Regions from separate parts of the Homo sapiens genome. Here all the other regions are linked to region 3. The links are contacts of gene promoters, found by promoter capture Hi-C in human tissues and cell types (Jung and others, 2019). All regions are on one chromosome and are shown on one strand. The core of a region is centred on a gene start or on the middle of the fragment in contact, and the rest is flanking DNA. Distances in the headings are between cores, read along the strand shown. Region 1 overlaps SEC24D (SEC24 homolog D, COPII component). Region 2 overlaps SYNPO2 (synaptopodin 2). Region 3 holds the start of SYNPO2 (synaptopodin 2).

Evidence for each region. Contacts are between HindIII fragments. The study calls those that stand out against the background at their distance.
Region 1: a contact is called between a fragment that was not itself captured here and the fragment with the promoter of SYNPO2 in region 3, in 2 of the 25 tissues and cell types used here (IMR-90 fibroblasts and aorta).
Region 2: a contact is called between a fragment that was not itself captured here and the fragment with the promoter of SYNPO2 in region 3, in 2 of the 25 tissues and cell types used here (aorta and bladder).

What each region holds. Positions count from the first base shown.
Region 1 is chr4:118,812,452-118,815,266 of GRCh38, reverse strand. It overlaps SEC24D (SEC24 homolog D, COPII component), which reads left to right. Exons shown (of 23, transcript NM_014822.4): 6 at 112-239. Among named protein-coding and RNA genes, the nearest start is that of SEC24D, 22 kb to the left of the region's middle. The HindIII fragment of the contact is 4,377 bases long and covers 1-2,815 here.
Region 2 is chr4:118,976,153-118,978,852 of GRCh38, reverse strand. All of the region lies in intron 1 of SYNPO2 (synaptopodin 2), which reads right to left. SYNPO2-AS1 (SYNPO2 antisense RNA 1) reads left to right here. Exons shown (of 3, transcript XR_939120.3): 2 at 241-302. Among named protein-coding and RNA genes, the nearest start is that of SYNPO2-AS1, 7.2 kb to the left of the region's middle. The HindIII fragment of the contact is 3,224 bases long and covers 1-2,700 here.
Region 3 is chr4:118,887,541-118,890,240 of GRCh38, reverse strand. SYNPO2 (synaptopodin 2) reads right to left here and starts at 1,387. Exons shown (of 5, transcript NM_133477.3): 1 at 1,100-1,387. The coding sequence starts at 1,204. The HindIII fragment of the contact is 17,765 bases long and covers 1-2,700 here.

The DNA.
Region 1 (2,815 bases), core at 173-2,672, 75 kb after region 3:
TAATAAGATGAAAAATACAACATGCTTGACTGAACAGCATAATATCGTCAACAAGTCTTACATGCTGGATTTGGGATGATAGTCATTTCTCTTTAAATTTTTTCCAAGCAGCCAACTCTGGTCCCCAGATGGCAGGCGCACAACTGTCTTACCCAGGAGGCTTCCCTGGAGGTCCTGCACAGATGGCTGGTCCGCCACAGCCCCAGAAGAAGCTGGATCCTGACTCTATCCCTAGCCCAGTAAGTACTCTTCTCACTCTCACAGTCTCACTCACAAAGGAGCATTAATTTTTCTCAGCAACTCATCAGTTTGTTAGCATTTATCCTGTTCATTAGCATAGAAGTTAGGAGATACTCATCACATAGAGGGAAGGCTTCCTTCCTTATATGCATGTATGGGGGAAAGCATGCTAGGGTTATGGGCATACTAAAGGTCTCCATGAAAGAGCAGCCTGTGCTGATTTTTTTTTTCTTTTTTTTTGGTGTCATATAAACTTGGCAGTGTCTACAATGTTTACATTGACATATTTTGGCAGTATCGCTATCTAATGAGTAATTAACAGACTATATCCTATAGAAATATGCTATTTTAGATAACTAAAGGATCCTTTTCAATAAGAGAAACCCATAGAGACTGAAAGTATATTTTACATCTTGCACAATAAAAAAACAAATTTTTTTTAATGTAAAGTTAGAACTAAACTCTTCACTCAAGTGATTTCTTTGGAGGGTTACTCTTTAATAATTTTATCAGTCAAGCTTTGCAAGGCCATTCTGCATAGCAAACAATCCCCAACTTTGCTTACAACTGCAAAGATGTATTTATCACTCAGTTTACATGTAGGCTGTGGCAGCTGCAGATTGGATTTAGGCTCTGCTTCATCCGTCCTTATCATTCCAAAATCCAGCGTGAAGAGGCAAACACTACTGAGGACATGCTATTTTGTGGCATAGGGAGGAAACAGAGCTGGCCAAAATGTGCAACAGCTCTTAAAGCTTCCACTCATGTGTGGCATGTGTCATAACCACTCATGTGCCCTTGGCTGAAGCAAGTCATAAAACAAAGCCCAATGTCACTGAGACAGGGAAGCTGCCAATCTTATGGCATTGGGATGTAAAATCCTTTTGGAATAATAACGAAATTGGCTACAGTTTATTTTGTGTCTTTGAATAGGTTCGATAAACATAAGTACTTGAAGAATTAGAAATAAAGGAGCAGGAAAAGCTACCATATTAGCTAACTTATGCTGTGTAACCAACTGCTACAAAACAGTAGCTTAGCACTACTGTTTATTAATACTCATGACCCAGTGGGTTCCCGGTTTTTCTAATCTGGGCCAGGTTCATCTGATTTTGGCTGAGCTTGCTCATGCATCTGGGGTCAGCTGGAGGCTTGGCTAGAGTGTGGATGGTTTAGGATAATGTATTAGTTTCCTGTGGCTGCTGTAACAAATTACCACAAATCAGGTGACTAAAAACAACAGAAATGTATTCTCTCACAGTTCTGGGGACCAAAAGTCCAAAATCAATATGTTGGCAAGTGCTGTGGTTTGAACATTTGTCTTCTCCAAAACTCATGTTGAAACTTAATCTCCAGTGTGGCAGTGTTGAGAGATGATTGGGTCGTAAGGGCTCTGCCCTTGTGAATGGATTAATCCGTTCATGGATTAGTGGGTTAATGGATTAATAGGTTATCATGGGAGTGGAACTGGTGGCCTTATAAGAAGAAGAAAAGAGACCTGAGCTAGCACGCTCAGCCCCTTTGCCATGTCATGCTCTGTGCCGCTTTGGGATTCTGCAGAGTCTCCACCAGAAGAAGGCTGTCACCACATGTGGCCCCTCAACCTGGGACGTCTTAGCCTCCATAGCTATAAGAAATAAATGTCTTTTCTTTATAAATTACTGTTTCAGGTGTTATAAGCAATGAAAAACGGACTAAGCAGGGCTGTGCTGCCCCTGAAGGCTGTAGAGGAGAATCTGTTCCTAGGCTCTTTCAGCTTCTGGTGGCTCCAGGTCTTCCTTGGCTTGTGACCATGTGACTCCAGTCTCTGCTTCTGTGGTCACATTGAGTCCTCCTTCTCTTTGTGTCTTCTTCTCTGGGTGTCTGTCTCAAAATTCCTCTGCCTCTTTCTTATACATGTGATTCCATTCAGGGCCAGGATAAGCTCCTCCTCTGAAGATCCTTAACTTAATAAAATTATTTTGCCATATGAGGTAATGAAATGGAAAAGGTTCCCTCGTGCCCCTTGGAGGGCATGCAGTGGGGGTGTGGCTCGCTTCTTCAGTGCTCCAAAGCTCAAATCTCTAGGGGAGGATACAGATGGGCAGGCTGTGGGGCTCCGACTCCCATGGCAGTGTCTAGGGGTGAATGTTTACAGCTGAAGTCCCAGTGGGCGTGTGTTACAGGGTGCTCTTTTAGTTTGCCGTCTATAGGTGACTTGTATTAACCAGCTCAATTAGACCCCTTCCTTATCACAAGGACAGAGGGATTTCTGTATCCCAGGTTTTTGCCTTGCTGTACTGGAAGAATTGGATCACACATGGGCTTGGAGAATGAGTGCAAGGTTTTATTGAGTAGAAGTAGCTCTCAGCAGGTGGGGGAGCCAGAGGGAGATGATTTTCCTCTGGAGTCCCACCACTCAGTGGCCCTGGGTCTCCGACTGCCCCGGCCAAACTCCGCCTCTTCCCATGTCTGTCAGTGTGCTCTTCCACTGGCATTCTCCCTCCACGTCCTCTCGCTGTCCAGCTGCTTGTATCTTTATCCGCTGATGTGCTCCTCTCCACGTCTGGCTGCCTTTGTGTCTCCCCACTAGGAA
Region 2 (2,700 bases), core at 74-2,573, 89 kb before region 3:
CTTTTCAACAAATGGGCTAAGTGTGTGTGTGTGTGTGTGTGTGTGTGTGTGTGTGTGTGTCATGGCAGGAGTATTTCACATGAAATACACAGGTATATTTGTACCTATGATTAGTCTTAAAGTCCTGGCATCATTTCTCAAAATAAATAACATTTTTTAAAAAATCTGGAAGCAGGGAGATTTGATTGGGCACTGATAATCATTACCTTGTAAATGAAGTTGAATGTTTTTCCGTTTCAGGAAATCATTGGGACAAGTGGAAAATCCATTGGAATACACATATATATAGTAAACAGAACAAGGTAATATAAATTACCCTGATTATTCATAAGCCAACTGGTGACGAGGATAAGGTATAGCCGAAGTTTCCCTGCAAATGGTTTGTCATGTTTTTCTTGTCAAAAAATTAATGCTAGACCCAACTCTTTTGTGTTTTACTGCACTTTTTACTATGCTAGGGAAACGGTCATATTTTATTTTTGATGCAACTGAACAATTAGAGAAAATGATTATCTAGAATTCTAAAAAGTAAATAAAATGACAACAAGATACAGTAATTCAATCAATCAGCAACTGCAGGTTAAATGCTTGCTTTGAGGGCAACTTTGGGCTAAATTGTGGGGAACAAAGGGAAAGATGTGACTTGGCTCATTCCTAGAGAAGCTTGAAATTTAGATGGGCAAATCTGGCCAAGAAGCAAGTTGCAACTAGAAAATCAATAAGTTATGACATCATAAGCCATTGACGTTTTCAAGGAATTCACCCAAAGATCTTAGAAAATTCCCAATCCACAAATTCTACAGTAGCATATAATTCCCTCATAAAATATTCATGCAACGGCAACTTGATAACAACAAAACTATGTTGGACTATATATGAGGTCCTATTTGCTGGGTTCACTCACTTGGCTAGTAACCTACTACCTGGAACCAGGCTTGCAGAACTCCTGAGTGGAAGTTATGTCTTTGCAAAATTATAAGTGGCAATGCCATAAACCTACAGGGTTGCTTTAGAGATGTCAAAAGTGGGATTGCTAACACTGTACAAGGTCAAGCACTACTCACCATGATATACGTTCAAAGAAGGCCTACATAATGCAGAAATTTCTATAGGGCAGAGTTGATGCTCCACAGACAAGGTAGGATTATGATCCAGACATGTCTGATTTCTAGCCTCTGAAGCTCTTCCCTGCCATCAGGAGAATGGCTGGATCCCACCCACAAGGCTAGTGTCTCCTCAAGTTGAGAGGTGACAGCATGCTGGCAGTCCTCAGAGCCCTCGCTTGCTCTCGGCACCTCCCCTGCCTGGGCTCCCACTTTGGTGGCATTTGAGGAGCCCTTCAGTCCCCTGCACTGTGGGAGCCCCTTTCTGGGCTGTCCAAGGCCGGAGCCCACTCCCTCAGCTTGCAGGGAGGTGTGGAGGGAGAGGCGTGAGCGGGAACCGGGGCTGCGTGCCGCGCTTGCGGGCCAGCTGGAGTTCCGGGTGGGCGTGGGGTTGGCAGGCCCCGCACTCGGAGCAGCTGGCCAGCCCTGCGGCCTCGGGCAATGGGGGACTTAGCACCCAGGCCAGTGGCTGCAGAGGGTGTACTGAGTCCCCCAGCAGTGCTGGCCCACCGGCGCTGCGCTCGATTTCTCCCCGGGCCTTAGCTGCCTTCCCACGGGGCAGGCCTTGGGACCTGCAGCCCGCCATGCCTGAGCCTCCCACCCCCTCCATGGGCTCCTGTGCGGCCCGAGCCTCCCTGACGAGCACCACCCCCTGCTCCACGGCGCCCAGTCCCATCGACCACCCAAGGGCTGAGGAATGCGAGCGCACGGCGCCGGACTGGCAGGCAGCTCCAGCTGCAGCCCCGGTGCGGGATCCTCTAGGTGAAGCCAGCTGGGTTCCTGAGTCTGGTGGGGACGTGGAGAGTCTTTATTATCTAGCTCAGGGATTGTAAATACACCAATCAGCACCCTGTGTTTAGCTCAAGGTTTGTGAGTGCACCAATCGACACTCTGTATCTAGCTGCTCTGGTGAGGACGTGGAGAACCTTTATGTCTAGCTCAAGTATTGTAAATACACCAATCGGCATTCTGTATCTAGCTCAAGGTTTGTAAACACACCAGTCAGCACCCTGTGTTTAGCTCAAGGTTTGTGAATGCACCAATCGACACTCTGTATCTAGCTGCTCTGGTGGGGCCTTGGAGAACCTGTGTGTGGAAACTCTGTATCTAACTAATCTGATGGGGACGTGGAGAACCTTTGTATCTAGCTCAGGGATTGTAAATGCACCAATCAGCGCCCTGACAAAACAGGCCACTCGGCTCTACCAATCAGCAGGTTGTGGGTGGGGCCAGATAAGAGAATAAAAGCAGGCTGCCCTAGCCAGCATTGGCAACCCGCTAGGGTCCCCTTCCACAGTGTGGAAGCTTTGTTCTTTTGCACTTTGCAATAAATCTTGCTACTGCTCACTCTTTGGGTCCACGCTGCTTTTATGAGCTGTAACACTCACCGCGAAGATCTGCAGCTTCACTCTTGAGACCACGAGCCCAGCGGGAGGAATGAATAACTCCAGACGCGCTGCCTTAAGAGCTGTAACACTCACTGCAAAGGTCTGCAGCTTCACTCCTGAGCCAGCGAGACCACGAACCCACCAGAAGGAAAAAACTCCGAACACATCTGAACATCAGAAGGGACAGACTCCAGACGTGCCAACTTAAG
Region 3 (2,700 bases), core at 138-2,637:
ATATGATGCCTGGAAGCAAAAAGGAGTTTCAAAGAAACTTCTTTCTTCGCAAAGGACACTAAAAAAAAAAAAACGTAAAAGGCAGAGGGAAACAATAACTACAAAAAAAAAAGAGTAAAAGCCAGAGGGAAACAAACAATAACTACAAAGGCAATGGCCCATGTATTTCATAAAGATCTGTACCCATTTTTAATATAAGCATAAAATAGGAAATTAATCCCATGCTCTTGCATGTTCTTCAATACAATACTATAATTTGCAATTTGATGATAAGGTTAGGTAAAAGTTTGCTTAGTTTTGTGCATTTTAAGTTTTATTTTAGCTGAATGCCAATTAGAGAATACCAGATCCCCTTGGGCTAACCAGTAATGCAGGCAATCTAATGGCAATAAAAACTTAAAGCATTTTAAATAGTTATTAATGTGTTACAAAGTTACCTCTTAGTTACTCATAATATATTTAGATTATCTTCTAAGTTTATTTTTGAGATCTTGACCAAAAGAGTACATAAGAAGGAATACAGCATTTATTGGATTTTTGCATTTATTTGTCAAATCCTTAAAAGGGTATTCTTTTAAATAGATTTTATGACACTTCATCATACTTTTAAAATTATTGCCCAACATTGGCCTTTTCATGAATGCTGCATAATAAATGTCACTACCAACACTCTATATGAGTCCCCAAAATAGCCAAGCAAAGTCGTTATGCTGAACTGAGCGTTTCTCCTCTGCCAGAGCCAAGTGAAGTGACATCAAACAATAACTCAACTGAACATTCTAAAATTGCCTGGAAGAAACGCTCCCCAGTGTCTTGCTTGTTGTCAGAAGAACATGGTTAACTAGGCCTTTTCCTCAGCTGATAAATATGGCATTCTTCCCACCCACCCCTCATCGATTGCAAGTTAATTACATAGGATGTGGCCCATTACTCTCCAAAGTTTCTTAGAAAATAACTCACTTCCTAGAAAAATCTTAATATCCGCAGCAAAATCAAATAATACTTAGACTTCTGCATCAGAACCTGAAAACACCATCAGCAGGTTGCTTTCATTCCTTCCTTCCTAGCACAGAGCCGTGACACTTCGTTCAGGTCCTACCTTTGCAACTTGTAAGGGCTGCTTCTGCTCCTTGCCACCTTGCAATCTGAACCCCCAGGGCGCCCCTCCAGTCATGGAAATGCAGATAAAATCCCCTGTGCCCATGTTTTCCTTTTAGTTGGGCAGCATGAAGAGCTTGACGAGACAGACGAAGCTTGGGTGCGGTAGAGGATGCGCACTCAGCTTCGGGCGCCTGCCGAGGACGCAAGACTGGGTAATGCAGAGCGTCCGCCGCTGCTGCAGCCGCTGCCCCAGCCGCCGCCCCAGCCGCCTGCTGCGAATTTGTGCGGCTAATGGGCTCATTCTCAAGGAGGCAGAGGCGCTCGCAGCATCCAGGACACAGCCCACTCTTGCGTCACTCTCCTTTGCTCGGCCCACCTTCGAGGAAAGGAAAGCAGCTTCACACACAGGAGAATGTCCTCACGTGGGGCGAGATAAGGGAAAGGAGGACGGAAGGGAGAGCCAAAGTTATCTTGCACTAACAGATTAAATCCAAGCAGTTAATGGTATAAGTATGATTGAAAAACTTACATTTAATAATTCTGTAAATAGTAAAGGACACATGAAGGTTTAATCTCCACGCCATGAATGACGTCCTAAAATAGGAGCGTTGGGAATTCAACTACTAGAGGATTAGATTCTCTCAAATAAATGTTTTGAGACTTGCCACATTTATGAATGGAATAGACAAAAAAGAGTTAAAATGAGTTAAATTACTACTTTTCTGTCTGCATTCTGCTGAATTATTCCTATAAGAGGAAACAAAAGAAAGCACAAACTTTTTGTTAATAAACCTCCAGCTCTGAAAAGTACCTTTCTGAACCATATATTTAGAGAAAGGGGAAGAGAAGAGACAGAAAGGGAGAGAGAAAGAGAGAAAATGAATATGAATTTTTCTCCTGGAAACTACATTCTTATAATTACATCTATTGCATAGTTTTGGGTATGTTAAATTTTAACGTGTTTTGTTTTCTTTCTACCTGCTGATCTTCTTAAACCCAAACCCAACAGTTAGTCAACTGCATAAAATGTACAATGTCACCTACAGGTTTCTTATTTTTATAGTTTGTCATCCCATGTCATGAATCTGGGTGGTCCAATATAAAAGCAGATTTTGTATATTCCAAATATTTAAATGTTTTAAATCTGAATACAATCTGCCAAAAATGTACAAAAAGGACATTTTAATTTTCCTATAATACTTTTGTTTTCCATAACATTCATCCACATAAAAACATACTAAATAAGGAAGAGCCTGGGAAAGTTTGTTTGTGTTACTTGTGGTACCAAACAAAATTTCCAGACACGCTGCCTGTTTCAGCACTAAGAAGCACTATATACAGTAAGTCCTCACTTAAAACGTCACAGATAGGTTCATGGAAACTGTGACTTTAAAACCAATTTTACCATCGACTAATTGATAAAAACAAGGTTAAGTGACTACAGTCTATTTCTGGTCACAAAGACATCACCAAACTTTTAAATAAGATTAAAACACTTCTAATATTAAACATGGAAATAAATGTCAGCTACACATGCATTTAAGAAAGATTAATAAAAACAAGATAATCATGGACCCAATTTTTGGTGAATCAGTGAGT